Linked DNA regions of Homo sapiens: all the other regions are linked to region 6. The links are contacts of gene promoters, found by promoter capture Hi-C in blood cells and fetal thymus (Javierre and others, 2016). All regions are on one chromosome and are shown on one strand. The core of a region is centred on a gene start or on the middle of the fragment in contact, and the rest is flanking DNA. Distances in the headings are between cores, read along the strand shown. Region 1 has its middle 61 kb from the start of LINC01738. Region 2 has its middle 15 kb from the start of TMEM275. Region 3 overlaps NSUN4 (NOP2/Sun RNA methyltransferase 4). Region 4 has its middle 10 kb from the start of LINC01398. Region 5 holds the start of FAAH (fatty acid amide hydrolase). Region 6 holds the start of LINC00853 (long intergenic non-protein coding RNA 853). Region 7 overlaps TRABD2B (TraB domain containing 2B).

Region 1 (3,095 bases), core at 43-2,542, 570 kb before region 6:
AGTAACCGGATGCTTTTCATGAGAATGCAACTTTATATAACTTGAATAACCATACACAGGAAGTGGATGGAGTCAATATTACCTCTACAAATCTGCTTTGGGAATTTGTTATTATGTAACACAGGAAGTATCATTTTACTGGGCAGTGAGGGATCCATTTTCAGGGTGCGCTCCAAGCAGGAAGTGATTTCATTCAAAGGATCCGCTATTATGTCCATAGAGTGCAGAAGAGTTACTCTTGGCAGAGGGCACAAAGAGACAGGACAGATAATTAAGGAGATAAAACGAGTGGTAGAACAGGCAGGTTCTGAGATCAGACAGGTCTGGGGGCAAACCCCAGTTCTGCTATTTACAAGCTGTTTGCCCCTGTGCAAGTGACTCAACCTCCTCCTGAATCTCAGTTTTGTTATCTGTAAATGGGAATGATGATAATATGTATCCTGCAAGGTTGTTGTGAGATGCAAATAAGATAGTGATGCTCGAGATACACTAAGTGTTATTATCAAAGACAGCCATGCAGGCCAGGCAAATGGCAGGAGGGAATGGTACCTGGATTAGCAAGAAGCACTGACATCCAGTCTAGGTTGGAGGAAATGAAGACTCCTCAGAAACATACAAATAAGGGCTTCCGTTTATTGAGGGCTTGCTATGTGCCACCTGGCACCTGAAGAACAAATCAATCTAAACAACATACTTGAGAGTGAAGGCCATTGCCTCTGCTTTACAGATCAGGAAACTGAGATCCAGAACGGTTAAATGATTTGCTCATGGTCACCCAGCCAATGTCAGACTCCAGAACTGCAGACTTAACCATTCTTCTATGCTGAAGATAAAAGTTGAGCATTTGAGTTGAGAAAGTTAATATGTTATATAACAGAATATTACTTGGAACTTTTCCTGGTATCTGGAAGTCACATCTGAGGCTCCAAAGCTGAAGATAGTATGTTCCCATTCAGAAGAAGGCAGCCAGTCCACTCATGCAGGACTTGCTGAGGGATAGCAAAACTGATTTGGAACCTCATATGCCCCCACCCTCTCACCTTTCCCCAACCAGCCAACCAATGGGCCAGATTGAAGCCAGCCATCCTCAGGGTATGAGGAGTGGACTGTCAGAGCAGAAGCTGCAAGGGGGTTGGAAGACACCAGCCAGGGAGAGCTTTGCCCACACCAAGGAAGAGCACAGTGGCTCTGAAAAAACCCACATATAAGCCCCTAGTCAGGGAAAGAGCTGGCATTTGGATGTCTCCACACAGAGGGCACCAATGTCCTCCTTTCCTTTCATTTCACCTCCCACCCATCCTTGCAGGAGCCAGAAGCAGCCTCCAGAGGGGACAAGAGGCTTGGGCTTTCCCTGAGCTAAGGGGAAACAAACACTTTGAATTTGGTGAAAAATTCAGATTGATTTTGATCAGATGAGAGTTTTTTGTAGATGAAAAGGAGATAGTGTCCCTGATAGTGACAAGGAAAGCTATTGAATCTACATGAGAGGCCCTCCAGGGATGGGGACGTGGTCTGCCATATAGCCAGTCAAAAGGGCAGTGGGAGTTGGAAAAAAATTAAAGTTATTTTCTCTTGGTGCCCCAATGAGTCCAACTGGATCAATAGCGGGCTACATTTGGAAACCAGGCCACTGGAGTAGGCCACACAAGTAGCAACCAGGCGGGGCAAGGAGAAAAGGAATTCAAACCAGACCGTCACTGGGATTCTGCCCTCAGGTACCATGGCAATCATTCTTTCCAGTTCATTTGTAAGGAGGTATTGGAGACCCATCTCAGAAGCCACTGATGGGGCACGTCAGAGCAATTAAATATGATTGTGTTAAGTACATAGTAAGCTGTGTATAATTTTCATTCTAGGGTATGGCTCAAACACTCCCCAGATGAAAGTTCTGAGTTGTTTTTTTTTTTAGCCTGCAAATTTTGTTATGTGGATATAACTTAACTGGGTAGATCATCAGAGTCCAGATTCTGGAGCCCAGAGAGAACCAAGTCAGCATCCAGCACCCACCACTATGGGGTGGTACATTTTATCAAGGGATTCTCCATGAAAGATTCTCAAAAGTGACATATCTCTGACTTAAAGTAAGATCTTGATTCACAAACTTGGCACTCAAGTTCACATTTCCCATGCAAAGGCTGGTATGAAACATCCATTAATACCCATTAATATCCATTATCTTAGGGCCTCATTTTTCTGGTGTTCTCATGCAGGGCACTGTACATAAATTGTCTCATGCACTTCTCCAGTGAGGTCAGTGCTACTGACCCTGTTTTATAGACATGGACACTGAGCTTTTGAAGGTGAGTCACCTCTTCCAGAACTCGCACCTAAGAAGTGGCTGCAAGGTTGGGAATTAAGACCCATAAGACTCTAAACCTGTGCTTTCTCAACTACCCTAAGCCAGGGGCTGACCTAGCCCCAGCCCCAGCCCTGACTTTTGGAAACTAAAATGTTGCCATGTCCAGATCTTAACCACCCCCAGTCCCGAGCCCAACTCCATCTTTCAAAGAATCTTCCTCCTCCTCCGACCCCCATCACACTACAATACCTGCCCTCTCTTACAGCACATGGCAGTCTGACTAATGTAATGATATTTACAGGTAGCCAGATCTTTTTTTTTTTTTTTTTTTAATGGCTCCCTTGGTCTAAGTCCTTTTCTCTGTCCACACTCACTCCCCCGGTGACCTTAGCCCATTTCATGGTTCTAAATACTCTGCTGAATCCCAAACTTACACTCCAGACCACCTCTCCCCTGACACTCAGCTGCCACTGAGACCTCTGCACTTGGAGGTCAGAAAGCATCTCCCAGGCAGCATATTCAAAACCAAACTTGTGACGTCTTCCCCCAGATCTCCAGCACCCACCTCAGTAAATAGTGCCACTGTCTACTTGGTCTCTTAGACAAGACATGGTGGAGTCAACCCTGATCACTCTCCCCTCTCATCCCCTACATCCTTTCCATCCTCTTGCTTCTACTATCAGAACACATCCAGAAACGGGCCACATTCATCCCCCACTGCTTCTACCCTGAGCAAGCCACCCTCATCTCTCCAGCCTCCCAGCAGGTTTCCTCGTTGCCACTGTGGCCACCAACT
Region 2 (2,928 bases), core at 150-2,649, 660 kb after region 6:
CAAGCCTGGGGGTAGACAGAGACCTCCCCATTTTACAGATGATGAAACAGAGGTTCCCAGAAGCCTAGCAGCTTATTAAATAGTCCACAGTGAGTCAGTGCTAGAAATGAAACTGTGACTGACTTGGCACCAGTCACAGACTGAGCCGGCCCTGCCCCAAACTGAGTCCTGCCATGGCCCATTCTGAGCTCCAACTCTGACCTCTAATCGAGCTGTGTCTTGCCCTAGATTGATCCTGAATCTAGCCTCAGATTGCCCCTCCTGTTAGCCGTAAGCCCTTCGAGGTCAGAGACGTGTGCACTTCTCATTCACCCCTGCTCCTTTACGTGGATATATGTGTGATTATTTGAGTAATCTCCATTTTATCCATTAGACTATATATAGGGCCAGGAACTGAGTCTACTTTTGTTTAGTGGCACTTATCATAATGTAATAAGTGCAATAATAACAAGCAAGTATTGGCCGGGCGTCGTGGCTCATGCCTGTAATCCCAGCACTTTGGGAGGCCAAGGTGGGTGGATCACTTGAGCTCAGGAGCTAGAGACCAGCTTGGGCATAACAGTGAGACCTCATCTCAAATAATAAAAGTAAAAACAAATTTAAAAAAAAAAAACAAGCAAGTATTGAGCATTTACTAAATGCCAAAATTGTGCTAAGTGTTTTACAGATGTTATCTTTTATTCCTAACAAAGAACCCTGAAGTAGGCATTATCATTCGCCCCACTTTACCAAGGAGAATACTGAGCCCCAAGGTGACACTAGGAGGAGGTGTGTATAGGATGCTCTTGGTAGTTCCCTCCACCCCTCACACTCAGTTGCCTGATGAGGAATGGGGTGGAGAAGGAAACCGTGGCTGGAAGAGGAAGTGGTGGCCCTTGGGCAGGTGGGAGAAGCAGAGGGCTTTCTGGAGGCCTTGGGTTTCTGAAGCCACAGAAGGGCCAGTGACTTAGCTGAAAGAGATGGGGTGGGCTGGGCACTGTGGCTTACACCTGTAATCCCTGCACTTGGGGAGGCTGAGGCAGGCGGATCACCTGAGGTCAGGAGTTCGAGACCAGCCTGGCCAACATAGTGAAACCCCCTGTCTCTACTAAAAATACAAAAAAATTAGCCAGGTGTGGTGGCAGGCGCCTGTAATCCCAGCTGCTTGGGAGGCTGAGGCAGGAGAATTGCTTGAACCTAGGAGGCAGAGGTTGCAGTGAGCTAAGATCACACCATTTCATTCCAGCCTGGGCAACAAATGCAAAACTCTGTCTCAAATAAATACATAAATAAATAGAAATGGGGTGGGAGTGAGACCAGCTATATATTTTATGGGGTCCAGGGCAAAATGAAAATGCAGGGCCCCTTGCTTAAAATGTAAAGATTTCAAGATGGTGACATCAGAACATTGCGGGCCCTCTGAGCCCAGGGCCCTGTGTGACTGCATGGGTCACACGCCCATGAGGCTGCTGCAGGAGGGAGCATGCTGTGAAGAGGTGGGCTCAAGGCAGCCCCTTGGGGTGGATGTGTGGGTTGGTGCACATGGGTGTTCACATGGCAGCTGGGACCAGTGTCTGACTCTTATGTGGGCATTTGGGTGGCATCTTCCACAATCACAGGGCAGCCGCCACCAAGTCTCTGTGGGCACCAGGCCAGCAGTTTGGCTCGAGAGGCTGTCTGTACAGGGGAGCTGGTGCCACTGAGCATTCAGGGGCTGTCTGGAGTGTGAGCAAGCCGGGAAGAATGCATGTCTGGGGGTGGAGCGGGTGTGTGGAGCATCAGGCGACAGAGCGTGGCTGTGTGTCTGCCGGTTTGCAGTGGGGCTGTGTACACAGGCATGAGAGACAGGGAGACAGACACCCTGGGATTGTGTGGTCCAGTGCAGAAGTCAACATGTCCCAGGGGTGTGAGAGGATGCGTGTGTGCGTGTGTGCTGTGAATGTATGGGGAATGTGTGTGAGAGGCTGTCAGTGTGTGGGGGCGTGTATGCCTATTCCCACGTGCCTTCCTGGGTGCTGGCCCTTGCTGTCTTCCTTATTGTGAGGCCTCCCAGGTGAAGACCTCTCCAGCCTGCCTCAGCCCAGCCCCCAGGCCTTTGTGGGACCAGGTCCCCTCTCAGAGCGACATTCCTGCCTGCCGTGGGGTGGGCAGCCCCACAGAGCTGCCTCCTAGGCTGCTGGGGTGATCCCTGGCCAGTGGTGTCAGGTTCCCAGTGCTGAGCCCTCCCTCTGCAACCCTCTGAGGGCCTTTGTTGGAAGTTCAGACACACTTGTCAGGGGGGCGGGTAGAAGGCCACCTCCTAATCGGCTTTCCCAGAAGCTAAAGGAGAATGAGTGATGGGGGTGGAGGGCTCCAGCCCAGAGCAGCTCTGTGGGAAAGAGATGAGGGAAGTGCCCAGCCCTAAAGGGGTCCATTCCCCAGACCCTCTCAGCAGGGGCCCCTTCCCTGAGGGCCCCTAAGGAACCAGACCCCTGAGCTGCAAGAACATTGGCCAAGGCCTAAGAGAAGGGGGAACTACCGGGCGCCATGGCTCAGCCAGGCGGTGGCTCACGCCTGTAATCCCAGCACTTTGGGAAGCAAAGGCAGGTGGATCACCTGAGGTCAAGAGTCTGAGACCAGCCTGGCCAACATGGTGAAACCCGTCTCTACTAAAAATACAAAAAATTAGCCAGGAGTGGTGGTCAGCGCCTGTAGTCCCAGCAACTGGGGAGGCTGAGGCAGGAGAATCCCTTGAACCCGGGAGGTGGAGGTTGCAGTGAGCCAAGACCGCACCATTGCACTCCAGCCTGGGCAACAAGAGCAAAACTCCATCTCAAAAAAAAGAAAGAGAGAACATGGGGAATTTGGAGAGAAGCTTCGGGGAGCCCCCTACCTTTCCCATTTCCCCCACCATGGGCTATCTGAGCACCAACGGCATGCTGGGCCTAGAACTGCTCAGCTTCTCAGCCT
Region 3 (2,700 bases), core at 192-2,691, 840 kb after region 6:
GGCCTTGACCTTTGCCATGTTGGGGACTCTTGCTCCGGTTCCGACTTTTGCCATCATAGACTCTTGCTCTTGCCCTGACCTCTGCTAATTTGGGGACTCTCACCCTGGTGCTCATTTATGCTAAGTTGGGGACTCTCACTCTGGCCCTGACTTGTGTTTTGTTGAGGATTACTGCTCCGGCCCCAGCTTCTGCTAGGATAGGGACTGCTTTTCTGACTTGGACTTCTGCTCAGATGATGCCTCTTGCTCCAGCTCTGACTTCTGCCATCATGGGGACTCTTGCTTTGGCTCCGGCTTTGGCTTTGGTGGGAACTCCTGCTCTCGCTGTCACTACTCTGGCATTTGCTAATAATAGTCGAACTACAGCTGGGATTGGTGCTACAGCTGGAATCCTTGGATGAAGGCAAAGGGCAGCTGTAGGGGATCTGCAGAGGCTCTTTGCAAGGGCCTTGAGAGGCCACAGGGTAGATATGGAGGCCACAGGGGACAGTATCAGGGTAGGCCCGGACTCGGGGGACAATGGGTAAACTTTGAGGATCAAAGGGTGTTCTCAAAGGGATAAAAGAATAGATGTGGGTAGAACAAGGAGGCATCACAGGCTGACAACGAGGTTGGGGTGGGCCCCTGGGAGTGCTATAGGTGTCACACAGGGGCACAATGGGAGGGGGGCCTGTCGAATGATTGAGGGAGCCAGACAGTGGGCAGGGATGGGGGGTGGAGGGAACCACAGAGCATATATGGGTATTGCAGGGGGGCCCTATGGAGGGTCCATGGCGGCTGCTCTGAGCATAACTATTGGCCGAGACAGGATCACAAGGAAGGCAGAGGGGAAAAGAAGTGGGGATAACACTTTTGAGAGCTCTAGGGACCACAGTCAGTAAGGTAGTCCCTGGGGGAAGTTCTTTGGGGCTGGAATTTGAAGGAGTTGTGATGTATGGCTGCATACAAGAAGGACCAGAGAGGCAGGAGGGAGGTGGGGGACAGGTGTGGGCCTTAGCGGGCTTGGGCTGGCCAGAAGGGGTGTGCTGGGGAGTGTTGACTAGGGAGAGACATTTGTGGGGAGTATGTGACTGTCTTAACTCTGGGGACTTAGGGGACTTCGGTTGGGGGGAAACTGGAGTGGGAAGAGGGGGTTCATTATAGCTTCTGCGGGGAAGTGACTGGGGTGGAGATATAAACTGGTTGCCCAGGGGTGAAGGGAAGGAAAGGACAGAATGAGGACCATGGGGACGAGATGGTTCCTGGGAACAGGGGGGACCAGAAGTTGTGGTGTCCGGGGTTAGGATGAGGTAAGAGTTCCCAGTTGCCTCCCAGGAGAGAAGGGACTCAATGCAAGCCTTCCTGGGAGCCTGGGACTGGGGTGAGCAAGGAGAATCAGTACTCCCGGGGCACAGGCAGATGGCATAGCAAGGACTCCCAGGGGTAGGTATGTAGGCCTCTGAGGAAAGATGGGAGTAATGATAAGAGCCCTCCTGAGGTGAGCTGGGAGAGCCAGGCATGCCTGCCTGAGAAGAGAGTGGGAAGCCACAACAATTTTTCTCAAGGGGCAGGTCAAGCTGTGGTTTGGGTTCACAAGAGTCTAGAGGCTTAAGGCTGCCATGGTAAAAGCTGCCAGTAGGTGGGGAAGATGCTGGGGAGAGAAGGGGGTCATTATAACTTCTCCCTGAGAACCAGTGAGAGGGCAGAGAGATCATCAGCCCAGTTTCCAAAACTCTGTGAGAAAGGGTTGGGGAGGCCATAGGACTAGTTTCCACCGGCCGGCGAGCAAGAGGAGGTGAAATCGTGAGGCAAGTTCCCGGGGTCCTATGTGTAGGAGGAGGCGAAATCATGGGTCCAGTTTCCAAGGGTACATGAGTGAGCTGAGGGGAGGTCACTGGGCTCGTTCCCGGGGACTGATGAGCAAGGGGAAAGGAGGTTGCCGGGCTGGTTCCAAAAGCTGAAGGCCATCCGCTAGAGTAACAGAGATTAGTGTGCTGGTCACAGTACGTGCCTTGAAGACAGGGACGCCGCATTCTGGAGGGACTCATCCAGCTGCAATAAGGTGTCCGCTGACAGAGAGGGGGTGACCCCGGAATGCTGAACTGCTCAAAATAAGGGCTGGAGAGTGGGGAACCCGAGTGGCAGGGCTAGCGGCAGTAGGTCCTTTCCAGGAGTGGGGAAGAGGACTCAAAAGACCATCTCCCTGAGTGCGAGGAAGGTTGTGGGGGTGGAAGAGATGGTGGAGGTGGCGAGGGAATCGGCTGGGGTGGGCAGGGGGGCGTGCCGGTCATAGAAGAAATTCCAGGGCTTCCAGTGAGGCAAGAAAAAGGGTCTCTGGAGAAGCAAGGAGAGTCCAGAGGATGAGAGGATTCGTTGCACCTTTTGCCAGGGTTTGGGCCGGCAGTATGGACAGGGTGGTCGCTGTAACCTTGCCCGGTCGCCAGAGGCAGCTCGAGGTTGAGGAAGGGGCTGAATCCTTTCCTGCAAGGCGGCGGAGACCCAGGAGTGCAGGCAAGGTCGCTATGGTATTTTCCGAGGGGTGAGGGCGACCGGGCTGGAAAATCAATGAGGAAAGGAGAAGTCATGTGGGGGAAGAATGGGCAAGGGAAAGGGGGAGGGGAGGGAGGGAAGTAAAAGGGGGAGTGGGGGACAGAAAGGTAGGTGGACACAGCTGGGGAACAAGAGACAGTGACATCACTAAAAGAATGAAGGCGAAGGTGA
Region 4 (2,747 bases), core at 72-2,571, 740 kb after region 6:
ATGAGGAAGACTCTGACAAGTTCAAAGGTCAGCATGGGAGGGAACCCTTTTATACAAATGGGGACATGACAACCAAGGCCTCAGTGCACGCTGCAAATCAGCTGATGGGCTGGGAGTGACCCCGTGTCTTGTCCCCTGGCCAAGACATCTTGCCTGCTCAAGGTCCCCAAGAGCACACATCCTCTGGTCAATCTACCCCCCATTCCACCAGTCACAGGAACTCATGGGCTGCCTCAAAGGCCACAGGCTCCTTACCCTAATCTGTGAGGCACCCAGTTAGCCCTCAGTCCACTCCAGCCCAATTCTGCCCAGCATCTTCATGCCAACCCCACCAGGCCAAGCCCAACAGCAAACCCAAGCCCATACCAGCCTCTCCCAACCTCATCTCTAACCCTAACTCTAGCCCCACCCCAACTCCAGCCTCAGTCCCAACCCTCTTCCAAATCTATCTTCGCCCCACCAACCCCAACTCAAACCAACTCCAACCCCAGCCTCAGTCTTAAGCCCATCCCCAAATAAAACCTAATCTCAACTTCAGTCCCAAATTTTACCTCAACCTAGCCTTAATTCAGATTTTTTTTTCCCTTGAGACAGAGTCTATCTCTATCACCCAGGCTAGAGTGCAGTGGCACCATCTTGGCCCACTGCAAGCTCCACCTCCTGGGTTCAAGTGATTCTCGTGCCTCAGCCTCCCGAGTAGCTGGGATAAAGACACATACCACCACACCCGCTGATTTTTGTATTTTTAGTAGGGACAGGGTTTCATCATGTTGTCCTGGCTGGTCTTGAACCCCTGGCCTCAAGTGATCCTCCCCGCTCAGCCTCCCAAAGTGCTGGGATTACAGGCATGAGCCACCACACCCGGCCTTAATTCAGATCTTAACTCCAAATAAAGTCCCAACACCAATCAAAAGTCTCAATCTAAGCTAATGTCAGGCATGATCCTAAAACCCTAATTAGAGTCCGAAATCTAAATAGATCCCCCCTTAGTGGATACCAGCTCTAGCCTCATGCCCCTCCTCAATTCCCACCATCCCATGGACAACCATTGGAGCAAGAGCTGGCCCTAGGGAGACTCACCCCACTCCACGAATCTCTTCAAGATGCTGGCTAGTTTGGGGATCCTAGAGGGGGGCTGAGAGGGGGAGTCCAACTTCAGAACCCACAGGGAAACAGTCAGCCTGCCCAGGAGGGGGTCCAAGAAGGGTAGCATTGCTCAACGCACTGACGTGGAACCCTCCGATCCTCAACAAGCCTACACCACTTCACCAAGCCCTGAGCTCACACTGGCCCTGTAGCCCTCCAAATGCCCTTCCCCCTTTCTGAGCCTCCTCTCTGAAACCCCCTCCCCTCTCTGTGAGCACCCTACTCTTTTAGCCCCATCCCCTTCTTTCATTATTTGTTTTAATTAATTTTTTTTTATTTTTTTTGAGTCAGAGTCTTACTTGTCACCCAAGCTGGAGTGCAGTGCATAATCTCAGCTCACTGCAGCCTTGATCTTCTGGGCTCAAGTGATACTCCCACCTCAGCCTCCTGAGTAGCTGGGACCACAGGCATGCACCACCATGCCCAGCTATTTTTTTTTCCATTCTTTTTAGAGAATGGAGTCTCACTATGTTGCCCAGGCTGGTCTCAGACTCCTGGGCTCAAGTGATCTTCCTACCTTGGCCTCCCAAAGTGCTGGGATTACATACATGAGCCACTGTGCACCCAGCCCTTCATTCTTCTTCCCCATTTTGAACCCCTCTCTGAGCTACCACCATTCTCTGGGCCTCATCCTCCTCTCTGACCCCACTTCCACTCCTTCTGTGAGCTCCCTCTGCTTTCTGAGCCCCTCCTACTCCCTGTGCTCCCTGCCCTTCCAAAGCCCTCCCTGACTAGGGCCTGCACTTACTATGTACTTTGGGATCCAGGCCAAGAAACATTTGAAGGGGTCTGGCAGGCAGAGCTGGTTGACCATGCCCTTTATGCTGGGATCCACAATGTCCCCCTCTCTGAGGAACCAGTCGCAGATGGGTAAGTCACAGCCCTTAGCCAGTGGCCTGCCCCCACAGCCACCCAACTTCCACGCCGTAGACAAGAAGGAGGCCAAACCCAAAGATGTACTTCTGCCCCACCCCCGGAACAGGTGCATCCTAAAGACAGGCCCAGTGTGTGGTTTGCGGCATAAGGTCACACTATTAGGCAGAGGCACCCCAGCCCAGGCCCCCAGTTTCCCTCCTGGGACTCAGGTTGGCTCCAGCCCACTCCCCTACCTTGTTTCCACCATGCCCCACCCCTGAGTCCCAGCAGATAACGTATAGCTTCTCTAGAAGAGTGGCCCCTCCATCAGTAAACATCCCCCCGTGTACAAGTCTTTGATGGCGTATTCTGCCTGGGGGATGGAGAAGGGGATAACCTGGGGAGGCAGAGGCAGAGTCAGTGTCTGGAGCTTCCCCGACCCTGCCTGGTTCTCTGTCTCTGCATCCCCCAAGATTTCAAGAAGGATGCCACATCATCTCGTGCATCTCCGTCCACCTCAGCGCCTCAGCATGGCATGGGAGGCCTGTGTCACTGGTTGCTCTCCTGCCACCCCACTCCCTCACCCTCACACACAGATGTGACAGAACAGAACGAGAGCAGCCCTCATTTCCTTCATGCTTCACTGTGATCCAGCCAGCGTGCCAAGTGCTTTATCTATGGAACCACATTTAATCTTCACAGCCACCGCATTGGGTAGAAAACAAGCCCAGAGAGGTTAAAAGGCT
Region 5 (2,931 bases), core at 43-2,542, 780 kb after region 6:
ACAGATACAGCAAGCCCTCCCTCTCTCAGCACATAAGAAGGCTTTAACTGGGGTCAGTGTTTCACACACCCAGAGGAAAAGCCCCTCTTCAAGCCACATCTTCCAAACCCTCAGCCAGGCCCTTCCACGCCTCCAAACCCACATACTGAGGTGATCCAAAGGCAGCGCAGGGAGAAAAGCTTGTTGACAGACCACCCACGGAGGGCTGGAACTAAACCTGCTCATGGAAAGGGCTTGCCAGGGGTTGGACACCACAGCAGGAGCCAGAGAGACTTCCCTTCTAGCCTGGCTTTGCCAAGATCTCCCTGTGCACTTGGCAGGTTTCTTTCTGGCTCCCTCTTAGGATCCAAATGCACAAATCAAGAAGCTTGAACTCAGCCAGGCGCGGTGGCTCACGCCCAGCACTTTGGGAGGCCGAGGCAGGTGTATCAACTGAGGTCAGGCGTTTGAGATCAGCCTGGCCAACATGGTGAAACCCAGTCTCTACTAAAAATGCAAAAATTAGCCAGGCGTAGTGGCGGGCCCCTGTAATCCCAGCTACTGGGGATGCTGAGGCAGCAAGAATCGCTTGCACCCGGGAGGCGGAGGTTGCAGTGAGCCGAGATCGCACCACTGCACTCTTGCCTGGGAGTCAGAGCGAGACTCCGTCTCAAAACAAAACAAAAAAAAACAAAAAACAAAACTCTAAGCTCTCCAGATCCCCTTGGCCATTACACTCTGCGATTCCAAAGTCCTCAACCCCTGGCATCCCACTGGTTGTCACGCTTGCGTTTTCGCATTCCAATAGGCAGCAATCGTGAGATTCTTTGGCACAAAGCAAAACTCCTCTTTGACCCAGTGAGGGAAAGGCCTTCCACCACCTGCCTTGACACTACCGTTTCCTTTCTTCCCCCGTGCTCTACCTGGCTCAGAAAGTGCGGAATATCTTAGGGCAAGGAGAGATTCTGGAGAGTTACACATCTGCTCTGCCCGCCCCATCCCCTGTCCCTCGGCGGGTCCGGCGGCTGAAAGTGCCGCTGCGAGTACCCTCAGGCCGCGCCCATCCCACTACGCTCCGGCAGTCACCTGGAGCCGGAAGCGCTGCGCCGCCCTGTCCATGTTCTCCAGGCCCGCTCGCTGCCTCTGTCGCGCCCGGACCACCGCGCCCCGCGCCGTCCGGCGCCCGGACCAGCGCAGGGCCACGGCCGCCGCCACGAAGCAGCAGGCCAGGGCGACCCCGGAGGCGCCAGGCAGCGCGGCCCACAGCTCGTACTGCACCATGATCCCTTCAGCCTGCTGCTGCCTACCGCGACAGTTGAAGCCGCCGCACGCGCAGCCCGCCCGCTCCGCCGCAAAACCCGGACTGGATCAGCCGGGATCCCACGCCCGCCTGCGCGGGAGGGGCGGGGAAGCGCGCCAGAGCCTAGAGGCTATCAGAGGCGGCCCGCCTGGCATCGCCCCCAGCGACATCCCGCTCCCCGCCAAGCCGAGCAGGCGGGTGGGGAAGGGCGACTGTTTCTCGTGGGCGACCTCCCAAGCTTGAGTTTAGCACCGGTTGGGCACCACAGCCCCGGCCGTCCTCTGCCCCCTGCACCCCAGAGCCCCAAATGCTGAAGACTGCGCCCCAGCCGGAGCCCCATGCCAGACATGCCAGCTGTTAGATATGAGTTCTAAATTTATCTTAAAAGAATCAATATGTCAGTATCTTCAATTCTTTGCCTTCTACTTTTAAACTTAACTTCCTCATAAAGCAACATTTTTCGATTACCTGCTCCTCCCTCACTCATTCTTCACCGTGGTTCATTCCGATTTCCTGCTCTGCGGTAACCATTTTTCCCGCCAAACCACTCACCCCCTCACTGTCTTTAAATTAGCCAATCGGAATTAGTTTAGCCTATAGGTCTAACCCTAGCCAACAGGGGAAGGACACAGCATCAGGAATCACGTGGGTCAGGCATAAGAACCACCTTCCCCTCCCTTGTCCAGGTGTGCGCTCACCTTTGCTCCGTCTGTGAGGGCGCACCCTTCTATAGAAGTAAATTGCCTTGCTGAGAAGAAAAAAAAGAAAATTTTATATTCGAGTGCTATTTCTTTTGCGGCACTGGGGGGAAACTTTATTTATAACAATTTGGGGGCTTGCTCGTGATTACATTCCCCTTCAGGGGCAGTCTCTGGTTCTCTCTCCTGAGGAGGTATGCCCCACCCTCTTGTGATGGCCTCAGGGGTGAGAAATCAGGACTCACCCAGTGCAAGAAATAACCTGAGCTCTCAGCAATGTGAAAAGAAACCAGCAGGCAACCTAGGGTAAAGCATCCTCACACACTGCAGAGACAACTCTGTGCACAGACAAAGGAAGAAGCCGAGGGAGCCGGTAAGGTACTTCCTTGGTGGTCAAATTCTGGAGGGCTAAATGTGTGTGTGCGTGAATGATCACAAACAACCCTACCTGTGGTGTTGTTCGTGTGGATGATGACAAGTCCTACTGCTGGACGGAGTGAGTGGGTCCTCTCCACGTTTCCGTAGCTACCTCATATGGCTTAGGGAGGATCCTGCGGTGGGATTTCTACTGGAATGCCAATGCTGAGGGGGGCCTAATTCTCCCTTGGGGGAGCAGCCAGAGAGGACAACACGAGTGGGAAGTGTGCAAAGGACCTTCAGAGGGGGAAAGGGAGGAAACAGGTCAACCTTCCAGGGAAGCAAGGCAAGACACCTCCTAGTTTGAGGGATTGAGCCTTCCAGGGCAGCAAGGCAAAACACCCCCTGGTTTGAGGGGTTGAGCCTTCCAGGTCAGGCAAGGCAAGATACCCCCTGGTTTGAGGTGTTGAGCCTTCCACAAATTTCAGGGGATCAAAAACCTCACACAAACCTCCGGTAGTAAGAAAAATATTCAGAATTCCCCTTTCCTTTCTTCTCGGGGAAGAAAAAGTAGCTGCACTCCTGACGGTCCCTTCC
Region 6 (3,115 bases), core at 297-2,796:
CTTCCTTGATGTCAACCCTTGGCCGGGCAGTTCCCACGATCTCATTGGTCTCACTTCTGTGTGTGGTATCATCTCTCTGTGGTCCCTTCCACCAGCTATCTGCCAGGATTGCAGGCTGCCTCAAGCCCTGGCTCTCAGCCCAGAATGTCCTCTTACTGTTGAGGACATTTTTGCTCTTCCTGGAACAGGGCTTGCACCTTGTTTTCCCCTCTCCCACCTAAAACATGTAAGTTTCATAGGGTTACATTATAGGTTATACCCAAACTCAGGCAGAAAAGAAAAGCCTCCACCCAGCAACTGCACAGTTGAGGGAAGACTGCAGCACTGCTTACTTCATTTAGACTTGAAGAGGAACTTCCAGCCAGGAGTTGGCTTTGAAAACAGGCTGTGGAGTTCCGTCTCCAGAGTGCCAGGTGGTCAAGGGGAGTTTCAAGATTACTGCCGTCATACTCAGAGTGACACATGCAGAAATACTATCTGTTTATTGTGCTTCAAGGATCCATTAGATCAGGACTATTGCTGGGCAAAGCCTCTTCCCGCAGCCTAGGGGTAGTAAAGGTGGGGGTAGAGGTGCTGGGGCTGGGGCCAGAATCACACACAGTCTGCTCTGGCCTCTACCCACCTTCACAGGGAAGTCAGGTGGCTGAAGCCAGCAGAACTTGCTCTGGGACCAGGGTGGAGGCACCTGCCTCCCATCCAGACCTGGCTGGAGGGTCTTGACTCCCTAGCTTGGCTCTCCTCCCAGGGTTTTTTTTTTTTTTTTTTTTTGTCCCTGGCAGTGCAGGGGTGGCCAAAAGCTTGAGCTTGGGAATCATGCCGATTGGTTCAAATTCCAGCCTGCTCCTCGATGCTTGTGGGATCGCCTAGCCTTTCAGATCTTCCATTCCTTTGCCGGTAAAATTGGCTCTATAGTACATTCCTTGCAGGGCTGCTGGGAGGAAACAGAGATGACATCCGTGTTATTATTGCTCCTGAGACTTGCCAGAAAGCCCTCCATGATCAGCGTAGATGCCATTTCTTCCCAGATGCTCCTTTCCCCACTCCTGGGTTCAGCACTTCCTCCGGGCAACTTCAGCCCCTGCTCCTCCCTCTCTTTGCACCCGCCCCACCTGCCCCACTCACTCCACCCACCCCAGGGTGCTGTCTACTTGTCTGCATCCTGCTCCTGCCCTGGGTCTGGGAGCTCCTCAAGGGCAGGAATGGAGTGACTTCCCTCTCTGTGCACCCAGGACAGGGCTGGACAGGAGAAGGGAAGCCCAAGGAGTGGTGAAGAGCCCCGAAGGAAGGGACTAAACTCCAGCCATCTGTCCCGCGGTGTCTGTTCATACTCCTCCTCCGTGCACGGGCTCAGACATACATATGCGCATATGCTCTGTCTCTTTCTGGTTGAAGGTCCTGGGAGCCCTCCGGAACTCTGCTGCCTGGCAGTCCTTCAGTTTCGGGAGCTTTTCTGTCTGCCCGTGGCCTCGGCTGCCACCTGGTGGCTGCACGCTCCAAAGGAAGCGTAGATTGATGAGAGCCTCGGAAGTTGAGCTTCAGGCGCGGCTCTTCCCCGTCACACTGGGACCGGACGCATTTCCATGGCGTGGTCCCAGGAACCTCTCAGGTCATGCCAGCAACTGGGACTTCCTGTGGAATGCAAGGGCAGTGGGGCCTCCGCGAGAGAGAGAGAGAGAGAGAGAGAGAGAAGAGAGAGATATTAAGGATGAATCCCAGTGTCTGCTCTGAGCAAATTGGAAGACGATGGCATCAGGGGCACTGCTCTGGGCTATATAGACTGTGCCTCCACTAAAGGGTCCCTGAGACCAGGTGTGGGCCCGTATCCCTGGAGGGAGAGGTAACTTCCTCTGATTCGAAGGCATCATATAGGCTAGTGAATGGCACTGAGAATGGCAGATGCCAGGGACAAGCAGGAGCATGTGTGGGATGAGGATGCGGCGTGGATGTGTGACGTTTCAGAGCCTGCAACACATCCGTAGGGAAGTCCTGGAGGAGCAGTTGGGTGCATGGTGGAGTTCTGAAACAGCTGGGCAGTCGGCACTTGAGCCAGAGATTCTGCTTTCGACCTGGATGCCCATTGAGAGGTTAAGAGCTCAGGTCTGGGTCAGGCAGCTTGGAAGCAGCACAGCTTGGACACTTGGTAGCCTGGGACTGTGGTTAAATCAACGTGACTCTCGGAGCTCCAGTTCACTGTAAATTAGGGCAGTAAATGATGTCTACATGATAAGTGGTGTTATGAATGTTAAACATTCACATGAAATACATAGAATAGTGCTTAGCATACAGTACACAATAACTGTTAGCTATTTGGAAAATTACTATTGTTATTATGATTATTTATTACAGAGTGAACTGAATTGGATGCAAGATCACGGTGCGTCAGAGCTAGCAAGATCCTTAGGATCATTTAGCCTGGTTTACTAATATTACACTATGGAATTTAAGCCCAAGGAATGGAGAGTACCCGACGAGCGTTATGTAAGGAGTCGAGTGAGAAGTAAGCTGGATGCTCTGCTTGGCTGGCAGGTACAGAATGTGCCAGACCCATCTGTACCAGCCTGGATCTCTTGAGGCATCAGCACAATGGACCTGGCCACACCAGTTTATTCCACACCGCTGAGGCTGGTACAGTTCTGGACATGGACTTTGTAAATAAATAACTGGGCCTTTGGTCAGTTCTAGCTGTGAGCTTGGAGGTATGGGGTGGGATGGTGAGGACAGGTGGGGGCAAAGTGAGGAAAGGGGCAGGGAGGAGAGGGGAGAGAGAAAAAGGGGAATGAGACAGGCTGAGCTAGTGAGCTGGAATTGGAGGTTGGGAACAGGCTTTCCTTGATGGTGGTGGTGCTGTTTTCTTTTTAATTTTAATTTAATTTTATTTTAAGTTCCAGGCTACATGTGCAGGATGTACAGGTTTGTTACATAGGTAAAAACATGGTGGTTTGCTGCAACTGTCAACCCATCACCTAGATATTAAGCCCAGCATGCATTAGCTATTTATCCTGATGCTCTCCCCACCCCTGCCCCAACAGGCCCCACTGTATGTTGTTCCCCTCTTTTTTGTTCACTTAAAAGATCCCACTTTTAAGTGAGAGTATGCAGTGTTTGGTTTTCTGTT
Region 7 (2,760 bases), core at 132-2,631, 590 kb before region 6:
CAGGGACAGATGGCTTCCAGTGTGGTGCCACTGAAGAGCCCTGGAGCCACAGTCCAGAGACCCTGCCTCAGCTCTCCTGAGTGATCTTGGTAAGTCCCGTTTCCTCTCTGGGCCCAGTTTCCCATCTGAGGGACAGACAGGCCCTTCCAGCTATGGTCTGCTATGAAGCTATTAGAAAACAAGCCTGTCTGCCCTGTGCCCAAGATGGAATTGATCAGTCATGGCCCAGTGAGGCTGAGCAAAGCGTGAAGGCATTCCCAGCACAGAAGACCATGTGGACAAAGGTGTGGAGGCGGGAGGAGCCCTAGATATCACAAAGTCCTAGATACCCAGAGCCGCAGGCAAACCAGTTGCTTTGGATCTCTCATCCGACCTGCTTGGCCCAGAGAGGCTGAGGCCCAGACTGGCATCACAACAGGGTCTCTGCTAAGTGATCACAGTGAGATCTCTATCCCCAGGCAGAGGGCCACCTGTGACCCAGGCCCTGTGTGCCCCAAATCCGGTCTCCTCAGGCTGAAAAGCTCTCTAAGGAGGTCAGTCAGGGTACAGCCCACCAGCCCCTTGTACCGGCAAGAAGGCTTGGGATGCCCAGATCCTAGACTGGGATGGCTCTCAGAGACCCTCTAGTGCCAAGACCCACCCCTGCTCCAGGGAGCCCCTTGGAGGTGCCTCATGGTCAGACAGCTGACAGTGTCTCAGACACACACAGCCTTGCTTTCTGCCTTGGGCTTCCACCTAAGATCTCGCTCTGGCTTCTGCTGCTAGTAAACATTTTAAAGTCCACGGGTCTGTTCCTGTTCATTGTGTTGATGGGGAAACCGAGGTCTAGAGGATAGCACTTGCCAAAGTCACACAGCAAGCCAGGAACGCACTACAGGCTAGAGCCAGGCTTCTGCCTTCTGCCCAAGCAGAGGGCCTCTTCCCCACTTTGGGGTCCCTGTTGACTCAGAGCCGATGCGGCCTCTTGGTGCCAGCCATCTGTGGAGCCTGGGAACACTTGCAGTGTTTGGTTTGGCTTTGAGGCCACTTTGCCATGAGACAGTTTCCCCCATTGTGAGCCTAGGAAGGGGTGGGGATCTGGACTGGGGGACTGAGCTTTGTGAGCAGAATCAGGCCCAGGAGGTGGGCTGGGGGCATTTGGAGGGGCTTGTCCTCCACACCCCCCACCCACCAGTCCTGCCCCATTTCTCTGGGACTCCTGCCAAGCAATAAAAAGCCCACTCAGGCTCCAAGCGGGAGTTTTCATCTTTGGTTTTCAAAGTGTGAAAGAAAATGCCTTTGGGCACCTTGTGAGACATAGTATTCATAACTCCTACTTGGTCTCGCCTTCTGATGGTGGGGGCCCCAGCTCCGGGCACCTCAAGGGGCACACCAGCCTGCTGTCCTGAAGCCAGCCCACCAAACCAACAGTTCCTCAGGCTGAAAGGATGGGGCAGCAGCTAGGAGGACGTTTTTATGGACTTCTTGTGTTTTGTATGTGGGTTTCTTTTTTTTTATTTTTGTTTTTGTTTTCATTAGAAAAGAAAGGGAGGAAAGGGGCTGAGGTAATGATCCCTGCCCGGCACAGGCACTAATCCCCTCCAGGGGCTGAGGCCAGATGAGGCCTCAGTGTCCCCGCCTGGCAAGCCTCCATCTGCGGGTTTGAGAGATCTCAGCCGGAAGCACCCACGCTTCGCTCATGGGCTCTCCATCAGGGGTTTGCTCATCTGTTCATTCAGGGACGGCTCCTTGGCCTGTCTCAGGCTGGGGAGACACTGTCTCTTGCAAGAAATCTGAAGTCCTTCAAGCTCAGTTTCCACACCTTAGAAAGGGGAATAATAATAACATAACACGTGTATAGCACCAAGCAATGTATGTCAGCACATTGTAAGTGCTCTATAAGTGGAAGGTGTTATTATTAGGAGAGACACAGACACAAAAATATTAATAATGATGCTAAAAATAGCCAACCTCTTCTAGCACTTCTTGTGTGCCAGGCACTGTTCAAAGCACGTTACATATAGAAACCCATGCAAACTACGTATAATAAATGGAGACCTACAACACAGAGAGGTCAATGAGAAATGTACAAGGTTTGGGAGAAGCCTTAACTGCCCCAAGTGGCATTGAGGGATGGAAGGCAGATCAAAGAAGCCCTCCAGGGGAAGGGCATTGAGTCTGGCCTTCGAAGGTGAGTAGGAAAATGGCAGCAAGACTGTAGGTGTGATGGAGAGGGTGGTATGTGTTGAGAGAACCATGAAAGGGGAGGGCAGTCAGGCCAGATCAGGCCGGCATGGGGTGGGAGGCACAACATGCTTGATTCTGTGGGTGTGTAAGGGACATTGGAAGCCACCTGGCCCTCCCCCCCCACTTCCACACACACACACTCTACTCAGAAACGCCATCCCTGCATCCTCTGGGTGGAACAAGAGTTTGCTCCCTCCCCTCCTGATAGTTCCTTGGAGTCTCTCTAAAGACAGAAGATCATGGCACATCACACCAGGTTGAAAGGAACCTTATGCAACTGCAGGGGGTGCTGAAGGCCAGAGCATCACCGGAAGAAAGTAAAGGGAGAGAGGGATGGGGCAGTGAGTGAGGACCCCTCTCTTTAATGACATACGTCAAGCCAGGACAGAGTGCCAGAGGCCGTTTGGACACCTGCTCCCAAGCCAAGAGCCCATGTGGAGTCAGGATATGCTTGGTGGCCCCGGGTTCCCTCCCCTGCCCACCTGGCCTAGCTGAAGCTGAGCCAGGGCTATGTGAGAGGCGTCTGGCCAGGAC

Evidence for each region. The method cuts DNA at HindIII sites, captures the fragments that hold promoters and counts their contacts. A CHiCAGO score of 5 or more calls a contact.
Region 1: a contact is called between a fragment that was not itself captured here and the fragment with the promoter of LINC00853 in region 6, in 9 of 17 cell types (naive B cells, naive CD4 T cells, total B cells and 6 more). The highest score is 11.1, in naive B cells.
Region 2: a contact is called between a fragment that was not itself captured here and the fragment with the promoter of LINC00853 in region 6, in 1 of 17 cell types (erythroblasts). The highest score is 6.6, in erythroblasts.
Region 3: a contact is called between a fragment that was not itself captured here and the fragment with the promoter of LINC00853 in region 6, in 1 of 17 cell types (erythroblasts). The highest score is 6.4, in erythroblasts.
Region 4: a fragment that was not itself captured here is called in contact with the fragment with the promoter of LINC00853 in region 6 in 1 of 17 cell types (erythroblasts); the score reaches 6.2 in erythroblasts.
Region 5: a contact is called between the fragment with the promoter of FAAH here and the fragment with the promoter of LINC00853 in region 6, in 2 of 17 cell types (endothelial precursors and total CD4 T cells). The highest score is 7.5, in endothelial precursors.
Region 7: a fragment that was not itself captured here is called in contact with the fragment with the promoter of LINC00853 in region 6 in 2 of 17 cell types (activated CD4 T cells and naive CD4 T cells); the score reaches 5.6 in activated CD4 T cells.

What each region holds. Positions count from the first base shown.
Region 1 is chr1:47,748,427-47,751,521 of GRCh38, reverse strand. No RefSeq gene overlaps it. Among named protein-coding and RNA genes, the nearest start is that of LINC01738, 61 kb to the right of the region's middle. The HindIII fragment of the contact is 6,160 bases long and covers 1-3,095 here.
Region 2 is chr1:46,519,488-46,522,415 of GRCh38, reverse strand. No RefSeq gene overlaps it. Among named protein-coding and RNA genes, the nearest start is that of TMEM275, 15 kb to the left of the region's middle. RefSeq lists an enhancer at 1-196 and a cis regulatory region at 1-240. The HindIII fragment of the contact is 2,873 bases long and covers 1-2,835 here.
Region 3 is chr1:46,341,156-46,343,855 of GRCh38, reverse strand. The region is part of intron 1 of NSUN4 (NOP2/Sun RNA methyltransferase 4); the gene reads right to left. Among named protein-coding and RNA genes, the nearest start is that of NSUN4, 1.7 kb to the right of the region's middle. RefSeq lists an enhancer at 1,762-1,851. The HindIII fragment of the contact is 4,077 bases long and covers 1-2,700 here.
Region 4 is chr1:46,437,911-46,440,657 of GRCh38, reverse strand. It overlaps the pseudogene FAAHP1. Among named protein-coding and RNA genes, the nearest start is that of LINC01398, 10 kb to the left of the region's middle. The HindIII fragment of the contact is 3,272 bases long and covers 1-2,747 here.
Region 5 is chr1:46,392,678-46,395,608 of GRCh38, reverse strand. FAAH (fatty acid amide hydrolase) reads right to left here and starts at 1,292. Exons shown (of 15, transcript NM_001441.3): 1 at 1,066-1,292. The coding sequence starts at 1,260. RefSeq lists an enhancer at 891-1,404. The HindIII fragment of the contact is 1,150 bases long and covers 370-1,519 here.
Region 6 is chr1:47,177,681-47,180,795 of GRCh38, reverse strand. LINC00853 (long intergenic non-protein coding RNA 853) reads right to left here and starts at 1,546. Exons shown (of 2, transcript NR_047498.1): 1 at 1,358-1,546; 2 at 457-928. CYP4A22-AS1 (CYP4A22 antisense RNA 1) reads left to right here and starts at 1,173. Exons shown (of 6, transcript NR_199717.1): 1 at 1,173-1,606; 2 at 2,347-2,671. RefSeq lists an enhancer at 1,174-1,675. The HindIII fragment of the contact is 3,617 bases long and covers 800-3,115 here.
Region 7 is chr1:47,767,919-47,770,678 of GRCh38, reverse strand. All of the region lies in intron 6 of TRABD2B (TraB domain containing 2B), which reads left to right. Among named protein-coding and RNA genes, the nearest start is that of LINC01738, 81 kb to the right of the region's middle. The HindIII fragment of the contact is 3,260 bases long and covers 1-2,760 here.